3 separate regions of the Homo sapiens genome follow, and regions 1 and 3 are each linked to region 2. Evidence: promoter capture Hi-C in 16 types of primary human blood cells and fetal thymus (Javierre and others, 2016). All regions are on one chromosome and are shown on one strand. The core of a region is centred on a gene start or on the middle of the fragment in contact, and the rest is flanking DNA. Distances in the headings are between cores, read along the strand shown. Region 1 overlaps LRIG2 (leucine rich repeats and immunoglobulin like domains 2). Region 2 holds the start of NRAS (NRAS proto-oncogene, GTPase). Region 3 overlaps LRIG2 (leucine rich repeats and immunoglobulin like domains 2).

Region 1 (4,114 bases), core at 1,264-3,763, 1.6 Mb after region 2:
CCCATGTGTTAGCGTGTCATCAGATTTTCTTTCAAAGGGAAAGTATGGATCTCCTAAAATTCACTGTTCCATTCTCAGAGGAAATGCAATTGTACCACATCATGTTATGATAAAAGAATTATTTCCATATAATTAAAAATATTTAATCGCTTTTGCTTCCTTAAGTCATCTCATAATAAAGCACAAAGCTTTCTACTTTATAAGGGACATGTAGAGTTGTGTGATTAGCAGTAAAGAGGAGATCCCTGTTTTCACTTAGCTTTCTTTAAGTGAAAAGCTAATAAAGCTCATTTTATTTTACTAAGGAATAAATAATGAAAGAACCAATGGCTCAACTCTTCAGGATTTTCCCCCTCCTCCACAGCACAGCATAAATAGAAACCATTCAACAAATTAAGAACTGTATCTACCCTGGCAAGAGCATGAGGCTAAAGCCAGAATTCCCCAGATTTGATCCTAACTCTGTCTTAACTATCTCTGTGGCACTACACAACCATTTACTTCTGCTATTACTTCCCAAAACTTTAATTCTAAAAGTAATAATCAGTGGTATACTAAAATAACCTATTTGCCATCCCTTCAACTGCCAAAAGGCTGCAGCTACATCTAAGTTTCTGAGATTGCATTGATCCAGTTTCACTTCTGATAATATAGGAAAAGGAAAAATACAATCACTTTTAATTTTTCAAGGCCAAATCTAAAGGAATTTTTTAAAAAATCAAATACACACCTGTGCATGTATATACCCTTCACAAAATTATCTTGTTTTCCCTCTCATTGATGGTTATGTCTCCAAGTTGGGAACCTGCCTCTTCTCTGAACCATTTCAACTCGAAACCTAATGACCACAAAGTCCTCTATTCAGGAAGCTTAAGAATCTACAAATTCTACTAATTACTCTTTGTTTTCTTTTATTCTGCTCTGTGTTTGAGATTACTATATTTCATTAAAATACCTCTTCATTTAATAAAATTATATTCTAAAATTAGATATATTTATATATAAATATATAAAGTTCACAAAAACACATTCTTATATTCTGTAAATTGAATAACTTACAGAACCACAGAATTTTAGCGTGGAAACTGCCTTTAGCAACCATCTAATCCTATATCCTTCCTTCACCGTATAAAGGAGAAAAAAAAATGATGGCCAGGAAAAGCTAAGTGATTTTGTTCTTCTGTTGGTATGATAAAATGGACATGAGCTTTAGCATCAAACAGACCTGGGATCTGATTCTGGCCCAACATTTACAAGCTATGTGACTTAGAGAAAATTATTTAAATTTCTCTGAACCTCAGCCTCCTAATATGGAAAACAGCAGTATCATCCTAGTATTTGAAAGTACCTGGCACATATCAGATAATAAGTATTAGTTTCTTCTGTCCAAAGTCATGTAGCAAACCAGTAACAGTGAACTGGTCTCCTACCACGGCAGTTCCCACTACACAACCTGCATCCTTTCGAATGAGAACTAGTAGCTCTGGTGTATTGTCAAAGTCAAAGGAACAAGAAAATGACTGCTCTCCTGACACTAGCAACTGTGTTTTATTCCACAGCAACTAACACAATAAGACATGCTTTGATGCTTATGGGATTAACTCAGAATTAAACTACAAACTGAATTGCCTACGACAGGCTTGGGATTTTTATGGGGATGGAGACAAATAAGACTGCCTTGCTCTGAGGCATAGGACAGAAGAACCACAAAATGTTAGCATACAGAATTTGCAGACTGATTAGTTGTTTTAATTAATTTGCTTTATTGTACTAAAAAAATCAGTAACAACAACCAAAAAGGAGAATGGATATACTTACAATGTCTGAAGATTGGAAAGAAATCTAAATACACCATCAGCAATATGAGTGACTCTGTTGTCTCCTAAATTCAATCTCTCCAATAAGCTCAGACCCACAAAGGCAGATTCATCCAGGCGGGTCAGCTGGTTATAGGACAAATCACTGAAAACAAGAAATGTGGAAGGTAAGGAATTCATTGTATTTGGTTCAACTTACAATTCTTATTATATCTACATGGTAAATTTAGAGCTTTCTACAAATTTCTAGTAAAGAGGGATGTTACATCTCATTACTGCCCATGGGAATGATTTATTCCAATCTGCTCTAGTCTTAACTGCCTCCAGTGAAATGCTATCCAACACTTACAGTTCGGATAGTCTTTGGCAGAACTCCCATGCATCAGGGCTGATTCTTTCAATAGCATTCTGGCTCACATAGAGCTGCTGTAACATTCGCAAGCCATACAACCACCCCTTGTTTACTCGTGTAAGGTTGTTGTGTTCCAGTTCTCTGCAGAATTAGAGAAAGAGAAGAAAATACGTTCCAAAACAAGGCAGTTCAATAACTAGCTTTAAATCTTAAGTTTTTCCCAGAGAAGCATATACCTTTGTTCAACCCAACTGAGCTGACCAATTCTATTCAATAAAAATGAATATCTTATTTAAGATTTAGTGCTTGGCCGGGCACAGTGGCTCATGCCTGTAATCCCAGCACTTTGGGAGGCCGAGGTGGGCGGATCACAAGGTCAAAAGATCAAGACCACCCTGACCAACATGGTAAAACCCCATCTCTACTAAAAATACAAAAATTAACTGGGCACGGTGGCGCGCGCCTGTAGTCCCAGCTACTCGGGAGGCTGAGGCAGGAGAATCGCTTGAACCCATGAGGCAGAGGTTGCAGTGAGCCGAGACTGTGCCACTGCACTCCAGCCTGGCAACAGAGCAAGACTCTATCTCAACAACGACAACAAAAAAAGAGATTTAGTGCTAGAAGGTAGTAAGACTGTCTAAAATAGGAGCTCTACAAAACCAACAGGCCAAGTGGTATAGTATACCTGTTTGGATAAATTCTGGTAATTTTCATTAGCCAAAACATTAAGAATATAAACTTTTTGGCCGGGCACGGTGGCTCATGCCTGTAATCACAGCACTTTGGGAGGCCAAGGTGGGTGGATCATGAGGTCAGGAGTTCGAGATCAGCCTGACCAACATGGTGAAACCCCATCTCTACTAAAAATACAAAAATCAGCCGGGCCTGGTGGCACACGCCTGTAATCCCAGCTACTCAGAAGGCTGAGACAGGAGAGTCACTTGAACCTGGAGGCAGAGGTTGCAGGAGCTGAGATCACGCCATTGCACTCCAGCCTGGGCAACAGAGTGAGACTCCATCTCAAAAAAAATATATATATATATATAAACTTTTTAGATGAGAAGTTTGTAAGAATTATTTCAAAATTGATCAGTTAGCTAACAAAACTTTAAAGGTTTTATGTACGCTTACTTCACATCAGTGACCAGGGAATGAATGAATGTATCTCTATAATCAGAACAACTACCCTAGCCATTCGACACTGAAAAGTCCCAAACAGACTACTTTCCTAATAATCACCTCTAGTCCCGAGTACTTACAGTTCTTCCATGTTATTCAAGCCAAAAAATGCTCCATCCTTAAGTTTGCTAATTCCATTCCGCTGCATTTTCAAAGATCTTAAGGAGTCAAGCCCTTGGAATGTAAGACCTTCCACAATTTTAATTCTGTTTCTTTTAAGTTCCCTTTAACAAAAATAGTTTTACAGTCAGGAAATTGGTTTGCTAAAATGTTCTAACAGTAATTAAATTAAAAAGAAAAAGACCCTGTAAGAAAAAACTATCTTCTTATAATCCGTCTATTTCGTTACTCACAAGAATTGGAGGTGAGGCAGCTTGAAGATCTTAGGTGGAATCATGCTCATTCGGTTACGGTTTAACTTTACCACTAATAAGGAACTTGATAAATTATCGAAGCAACCAGCCTCCAAGGTGGTTATTCTGTTATTACTTAAATTCCTAAAATAAACAAGATAATAGCAAAAGAAAAAATTTAGTAAAATAAAAATTCTACCACTAGAAAGCTGCCAAAAATCTATGTCTAAGCCCCCAGCTCTATCACTTAATGCCCATCCACAACTTTATAAATCATTTAACTGCTCTGTTTCTTCATCTACAAAATTAAGAAGCTACCTACTTCATTTAGGTTGTTACAAAACAGCATGTGTGAATATGCTTTGTAAACTGGAAAACACTGGCACACATGCTAATTATCATTATATACAGTA
Region 2 (3,721 bases), core at 1-2,500:
GTTATGTTTAAAAAAATAAATAAATTTAAGAAAACCATTTTAAATAATGCACAGTTGCAGCCTGGAAAAACTTAAGGTGGCGCCTTATAGTATCAATTTTAGGAGCTTTATTTGGTGCATTTAACGCAACTGGTAATTGCAGAATCCACTTTGCCTGTGTAAGTGAAAAATATAGACTGTTATCTTGTTGGCCCTATGAAATTCTGCACTTTTCATTATATACTCTACCTTCATTAATTACTTCTGGCAAGATGTTCTGCCTTAGCACTCAGTTGCATTCTTTTCCTTTTTCTTCCTGTTCATTATGCTTTAATTCTGAGGACCATATGAGGGTAGAATATATTATCTTTTAAAAATTACAAAAATTTGTATAGGCAAACCATTTCTTAAAGTTGATGGCCAAATTTTAAAATGTTATTTTTCATATCATTTATAATCTTGTCACAATCCACTTAAAGAAGTTTGGTTATATTTCAGTGAAAATTTTCTTCCAGAGTAGGTTTTTTTTCGTGGGTTGGGGGGTAACTTTACTACAATTAGTAAGTATGGTGCAGAATTTCATGCAAATGAGGAGTGCCAGCAGTGTGATAATTTAAACATATTTAAACAAAAACAAAAAAAATGAATGCACAAACTTGCTGCTGCTTAGATCACTGCAGCTTCTAGGACCCGGTTTCTTTTACTGATTTAAAAACAAAACAAAAAAAAATAAAAAAGTTGTGCCTGAAATGAATCTTGTTTTTTTTTATAAGTAGCCGCCTGGTTACTGTGTCCTGTAAAATACAGACACTTGACCCTTGGTGTAGCTTCTGTTCAACTTTATATCACGGGAATGGATGGGTCTGATTTCTTGGCCCTCTTCTTGAATTGGCCATATACAGGGTCCCTGGCCAGTGGACTGAAGGCTTTGTCTAAGATGACAAGGGTCAGCTCAGGGGATGTGGGGGAGGGCGGTTTTATCTTCCCCCTTGTCGTTTGAGGTTTTGATCTCTGGGTAAAGAGGCCGTTTATCTTTGTAAACACGAAACATTTTTGCTTTCTCCAGTTTTCTGTTAATGGCGAAAGAATGGAAGCGAATAAAGTTTTACTGATTTTTGAGACACTAGCACCTAGCGCTTTCATTATTGAAACGTCCCGTGTGGGAGGGGCGGGTCTGGGTGCGGCCTGCCGCATGACTCGTGGTTCGGAGGCCCACGTGGCCGGGGCGGGGACTCAGGCGCCTGGGGCGCCGACTGATTACGTAGCGGGCGGGGCCGGAAGTGCCGCTCCTTGGTGGGGGCTGTTCATGGCGGTTCCGGGGTCTCCAACATTTTTCCCGGCTGTGGTCCTAAATCTGTCCAAAGCAGAGGCAGTGGAGCTTGAGGTAAGTTTATCTCATGCATAGTGTTCGGCTTTGGGCTGTGGAATGTTCAGGCGTTTCACTGATGCCAGAAATGGAGCAGAATCTATCAGCTGGAGACAAAGGCCTTGGGCGGGGGTCCTTCCATTTGGTGCCTACGTGGGGAGATCTTTGGAGACAGAAGGGAGAATGGGAAGGAGTTGCGGCCTGGAGGCTTCCTGCTAGAGCTGAGAAGCCTTCGGGGAGTAATAGGAAGGGGGATTTCCATTGCTTAGGCTGAGGGCGGGGCCCAAGGACTGTTGAAAAATAGCTAAGGATGGGGGTTGCTAGAAAACTACTCCAGAAGTGTGAGGCCGATATTAATCCGGTGTTTTTGCGTTCTCTAGTCACTTTAAGAACCAAATGGAAGGTCACACTAGGGTTTTCATTTCCATTGATTATAGAAAGCTTTAAAGTACTGTAGATGTGGCTCGCCAATTAACCCTGATTACTGGTTTCCAACAGGTTCTTGCTGGTGTGAAATGACTGAGTACAAACTGGTGGTGGTTGGAGCAGGTGGTGTTGGGAAAAGCGCACTGACAATCCAGCTAATCCAGAACCACTTTGTAGATGAATATGATCCCACCATAGAGGTGAGGCCCAGTGGTAGCCCGCTGACCTGATCCTGTCTCTCACTTGTCGGATCATCTTTACCCATATTCTGTATTAAAGGAATAAGAGGAGAGAAAGTAAAAAGTTATTTTGGGTATACATTCAGTTATGCAATAAGCTTAACGTGTTTATAGAGAACAGTTCATTTTTATTAGCTGCTGAAGTTTCTAAAACCTGTCCAGTTTTTAACAGTTCTGTAAACTATTGCAAACTCAGTGTTGAGTTCATTCATGAGTTTCTTCATATATAACAGCTCTATTACATGAGAAACACAGGCCATAGTAGCGAGACTGTCTGATTGTATGGGAGATAATAGGATGGAGATAAAGGATTCAGAGATGAGTGTTCTTCAATATTTATTTATTAGCTAGTTGAAGCAGCTGAGACCAGATGATTGGAGTAGCAAGAACTTGAGATTTTTAGTCTTTATGCCTAGGATTTTGGTCCCTGTTTGCAGTTTATTTAGTTGTGTGATATTGAGCAACTGAATCTCTCCCAACCTCATTTTCCTCATGTTTTAAATTACCATAAACTTGTCCTGCCTACCACACAGGGATGTTATGGAAAGTTAAATAATATATTTAAGTTATTTATGAATGGTAAAGCACTATGTAATAGTACTTAGGGATTCTATTGTTATTATGAGAGTTCATGGTACAGATTGTCTTCAGTAAGTGGCACCTAAGGCTCTTTAAATAAAGGGTTTTGCCGGACACGGTGGCTCACGCCTGTAATCCCAGCACTTTGGGAGGCTGAGGCAGGCGGATCACAAGGTCAGGAGTTCAAGACCAGCCTGATCAACATGGTGAAACCCCGTCTCTACTAAAAATACAAAAATTAGCTGGGTGTGGTGGCAGGCACCTGTAATCCCAGCTACTCAGGAGGCTGAGGCAGGAGAATCGCTTGAACCAGAGGCAGAGGGTGCAGTGAGCCGAGATCACACCACAGACCTCCAGCCTGGGCAACAGAGCGAGACTTCGTCTCAAAAAATAAATAAATAGATAAATAAATAAAGGGTTTTGTAATTTTGTTCAGTTTAGAAATGCCTAACTTTAGAGATTATTTTAATCAACACCTGGCCTCCCTACCATCTGGCTACTCGTGTTTAATTGATGAAAACTAACTCTAATGTAGCCACTATAAAAAATTGGTTGCTAACCCTTGGCAAAATCTTTATTTTGAGCTTAACAGCTTTAATATTTTACATGAAATGTTTAATATTTTAATTAAATATTTTTAAATGTTTGATTTATTGAGCAATTTACATAAGTAAAATACATAAATTTTATGTCTACAGCCCAGTGCTTTTTGCGTTTCTATATAGTCATGTAGCTACCACCCAGATAACAGTATAGAGCACTTCCAGTACTCCAGAGAGTTCTCCAAGTGTGATGACATTAAAATACAAGTAAAAGTCCTGTTGCCATAAAACCAAAATGAAAGTATTTTTTATATGATCTATGCATGTTTGTCTTCCTGAGAAATTAAACATAACTATACCTTGTTTGGAACCTTTAAGAATTTGATTCAGGAATATTTCCCAAAGGTACATCTGTCATGATAAAAAAAAAACCTTCTCTGAAACAAAGGTATTTGTATATTTAGTCATAAACACAAATGATGTATATAGGGCCAGGTTATAATTGGTGGAGGTATGTTTAGATTTCTTTAAGTAAAATAAACAGCACAAATAAAACAGTCCAGTTCATAGCTTAGTGAAATACACTGGGT
Region 3 (3,971 bases), core at 138-2,637, 1.6 Mb after region 2:
GGCATTACAGTAACACCCTATCTCAAATAAACAAAATTCTTTCCTCAAAGAGGTTCTGTTATGAACCTATTCCTCAAAGAGGTTCTGTTATATCAAAGAAGTTGAACATTTTAACAACAAAAACTCCCTTCTATCACATATCAGGTAATGTATCACAGCTCTTCAGTTTTTTGAGGGGGAAGATGAGGTCTTGCTATGTTGCCCAGGTGGGCCTTGAACTCCTGGGCTCAAGCAGTCCTCCCACCTCATCCTCCTGAGTAGCTGGGAGTACAGGCATGTGCTACTATGACCAGCTCTCAGTTTTTTATATTGTACAATTAATCCTATACTACATTCTTGACTGAAGTACAAGCCATAGGTGTCATGTGGGTACTACTTACCTGTGTTTGTGATACTATAGTCTTCATTTTTCCTTCTCATGTGGTAAATAACAATGACCCAGATCAAAGAAGTGCCAACAACACAGCAGACCACAACAATGATGACAATGCCAACTGTGGTCCAGCCATCATCTTCATGCCCAATGCTACTCTGGGAAGAGTCACAATTGGGGGATGAAATGACATTTAGGTAAATGTGGCCACGTTCTGTCCCAAGGGTGTTAGACATAATGCAGGTATATTTCCCAGCATCTTCTAGCCCGGCATCTACAATGATGAGAAGCTGATTGGCTGCAGCAAAGAAATGTCGTTCTGTCACCAGCAAAGGCCCATCATCTTTAGTCCAGTTGAGACGAGGGGCAGGACTCCCTCCAGCTATGCACTGTAACACCGCAGTTTCACCTCGTGTTACTGTCTTATCCTCCAGGGGTCTAATAAATGAGGGTGTCTCTAACAGGAAAACATTAAAAAAAAAAAAAATGAAAAGTTAGGCAATTTTATTCCCTAATTTCTACTGAATTAGACCAATGGGGGTATAATAAAATGAGTAATTTTATATACTCATGGGAGGATTAGAAGTTAATGTTTCAGAACAAAATCCTGAAAAAAGCCTCAATCTTTTCTCGATAATTCCAGCTTAGGCAAGCTATCCTAAGAAAGAAGTTCAGGGCAGCTGCAATAGCTGGAGGGGGTGAGCAGCGGTGACCCATTAAAAAAGATTAAAAATAACTTAAAAAAAAAGAAATTCAAAGATTTATACGCAAAGATGTTTACTACAAAATGTGTAACTTTAAAGAATAAAGAAAAACATTTTTAAATCTAGCAGAAAAATGATTAAGTAAATTATAGTCACATGATCTTTTACAAAGACTTTAATAACAAGGCAACTTGTGGTACAATATTAAATGAAAAAAATGTAGGTATATTTGACTACATAAAAGTGAGAGGGGAAAGTCTAGAATATGCTAAAATCCTTAAGTATTTGAGTGACTTTCCTCCCCTTTTCCTAATTTTCTGTATATCTTAACATGTTAAAACAATAAATGACTTATTTTTCTAAGGCTGAGGCAGGCGGATCATGAGGTCAGGAGTTCGAGACCAGCCTGACCAACATGGTGAAACCCCGTCTCTAAAAAAAATACAAAAATTAGCTGGGCGCAGTGGTACATGCCTGTAGTACCAGCTACTCAGGAGGCTGAGGCAGGAGAATCACTTGAACCCGGGAAGTGGAGGTTGCTCTGAGCCGAGATTGCGCCACTGCATTCCAGCCTGGGCAACAGAATGAGACTCCGTCTCAAAATAAATAAATAAATAAATAAATAAATAAATAAATAAATAAATAAATAAATGACTTCTTATTTTTCTGGTTATACAAGTAAACAATACAAACCAACAAACTTAAAAAAAATAATAATAATAACTGACATATAGGAAAATAGAGAACTGGAAAGTAGAATTTACCCTGGATTTGAGTTCCACGAAGAAAAGTATTGTAATAAGGAAGAAAAAACAAAACAAACAAACAACAACAACAAAAAAAACCCAGGCCAGCAGGGGAAAATTTTTAGGAAAAAAGGCATTTTACCAGAAATAGGGTTAAGAAGAACACACTGAAAAGGAAAGCAGAAACTCTAACCAGAAAACACATCTTTTTTTTTTTTTTTTGTATTAAATTTTTTTTGAAAATGAACTAGGAGCAAACAGTTAAATAGTCTTAGGTTCCTATCAAGCAATAAGTGAAGCAGCATCAAATGGCTGGGATACTCCTAAAAGAACAGTGGAACTCTCAATGCAAACTCAGTGAATAGTAAACACACCTACATGAAACAGAAACCTTACAGAGAGGGACTTAAAAAGATAAGCTGATAAAGGAATTTGAACTTTCAATTATTGTGACAAGGATGCCTACCTAATTTTGCCCTATGTATTTTCCCACATTTCAGTTATCTGACCCACTAATTCCTAGACTGACATAACCTTGCATAAAATTGTGAAATAAGATAAAGATCTAAGAATCACAGAGGTAATCTCAAACTTATTTTTCTTGCTCATTAAGACCAAGAGTAGCTCCCAAAGACTCCAACAAAAGCAGGGACCCATGGAGCAGTAAACGTACCTAACACTGTTAGGGAAGCATTTGCTGAGAGACCTCCTGCTGTATTTTGTGCCATGCAGCTATAGATTCCCATATCTTCTATTTTCACATTGGCAATAAAGAAGACGTCATCCTCGGGCATGACGTGCATGCGTCTTTCTCGAGCCGCAGGAAAGTCAGTACCACCATCTTTCTGCCAGGAAATCTGAGGTGCAGGGTGTCCCTCTGCAGCACATTCTAATCTGGCCATGGCACCAGTGCGAATAGTCAGATCCATTGGCGTTTTCAGAAAAGATGGCATCTCTGTTTCCAGAAAAATCACCAAGAAAAAGTGGGCAAGGGAACAAAGACACATATATGCATACAAATAGGCATGAAAGAATCTAGTAGGCAAGACACCCCCTAATGTTCCATTTCTTTGTGAAGACAGGCTCTCTGATTGAGAGTGAATATAGTTTTATAAATTTAAAAAAACAAAAACAAACTTTAGAGATAGGGTCTTGCTCTGCTGTCCAGGCGGGAGTACACTGGCGCAATCATAGCTCACTGCAGCTTCAAATTCCAGGCCTCAAGCTATCCTCCCACCTTGGCCTCCCAAAGTGCTGGGACTACAAGCCTGAGCCACAGCACCCAGCCAAGAGTGAATATGGTTTTGAGAACATCTTTTCTTCCAGAACCTCAGAGTATTTGGAGCACACTGATGACTGTGTCTTCTAGGATGCATGATACACTTAATCATCAGCTGGAACTAGGGAAAGCAGAAGGCCACAAACCTTCTTTGAACTTCGTATTTTAGAACCTGGTATTTACTATGACTCTCTCACTTATGAAGCTAAATGATGCTTCCCTGGGAGGCTGAGGCAGGAGAATCACTTGAAACTAGGAGGCGAAGGCTGCAGTGAGCTGAGATCACACCACTGCACTCCAGCCTGCATGACAGAGTGAGAGTCCATCTCAAAAATGTTCCCAAACCAACATCTACAAAGCTATCAAGGAAACTGCATGCTAAAAAAACTTATGCCTTCAAAAGTATCATTAAAAAACACAGAAGCAAAACATAAGTACATCTTTTGGTTGTACAAACCCTAAAATGTTGTAGTTATTCAATTTAATAGGCAATAGATAAATCAAGCTGTTTTTAAGAAGCTTTTGCAGGAAAGAAGAGTATTCATTTTTAAAATGATCCTGTGTGGAGTGAAAAACCAAACACCATATGTTCTCACTTATAAGTGGGAGCTAAGTATGAGTACACAAAGGCATACAGAGTGGTATCATGGACGTTAGAGATTCAGAATGGAGAGGGTGAGCGGGGGCTAGGGATAAAAAACTACACATTAGATACTATGTACGCTACTCAGTGATGGGTGCACTAAATTCTCAGAATGCACCACTATAATTCATCCATGGGAAAAAAACTCACTTGTACCCCAAAAGGTACTGAAATAAGGCTGGGTGCAGTGGTTCATGCCTGTAATCCGAATACTTTGGGAGGCCAA

Evidence for each region. The method cuts DNA at HindIII sites, captures the fragments that hold promoters and counts their contacts. A CHiCAGO score of 5 or more calls a contact.
Region 1: a fragment that was not itself captured here is called in contact with the fragment with the promoter of NRAS in region 2 in 4 of 17 cell types (M2 macrophages, total CD8 T cells, activated CD4 T cells and 1 more); the score reaches 7.6 in M2 macrophages.
Region 3: a contact is called between a fragment that was not itself captured here and the fragment with the promoter of NRAS in region 2, in 4 of 17 cell types (M2 macrophages, monocytes, M1 macrophages and 1 more). The highest score is 9.2, in M2 macrophages.

What each region holds. Positions count from the first base shown.
Region 1 is chr1:113,094,070-113,098,183 of GRCh38, reverse strand. It overlaps LRIG2 (leucine rich repeats and immunoglobulin like domains 2), which reads right to left. Exons shown (of 18, transcript NM_014813.3): 5 at 3,702-3,845; 6 at 3,429-3,572; 7 at 2,167-2,310; 8 at 1,819-1,962. Among named protein-coding and RNA genes, the nearest start is that of LRIG2, 23 kb to the right of the region's middle. The HindIII fragment of the contact is 3,284 bases long and covers 872-4,114 here.
Region 2 is chr1:114,714,300-114,718,020 of GRCh38, reverse strand. It overlaps NRAS (NRAS proto-oncogene, GTPase), which reads left to right and starts at 1,250. Exons shown (of 7, transcript NM_002524.5): 1 at 1,250-1,363; 2 at 1,844-1,971. The coding sequence starts at 1,861. It overlaps CSDE1 (cold shock domain containing E1), which reads left to right. Exons shown (of 20, transcript NM_001007553.3): 20 at 1-1,105. RefSeq lists enhancers at 1,245-1,444, 1,455-1,554. The HindIII fragment of the contact is 3,751 bases long and covers 1-1,788 here.
Region 3 is chr1:113,111,286-113,115,256 of GRCh38, reverse strand. It overlaps LRIG2 (leucine rich repeats and immunoglobulin like domains 2), which reads right to left. Exons shown (of 18, transcript NM_014813.3): 14 at 2,497-2,778; 15 at 381-830. Among named protein-coding and RNA genes, the nearest start is that of LRIG2, 40 kb to the right of the region's middle. The HindIII fragment of the contact is 4,473 bases long and covers 1-3,623 here.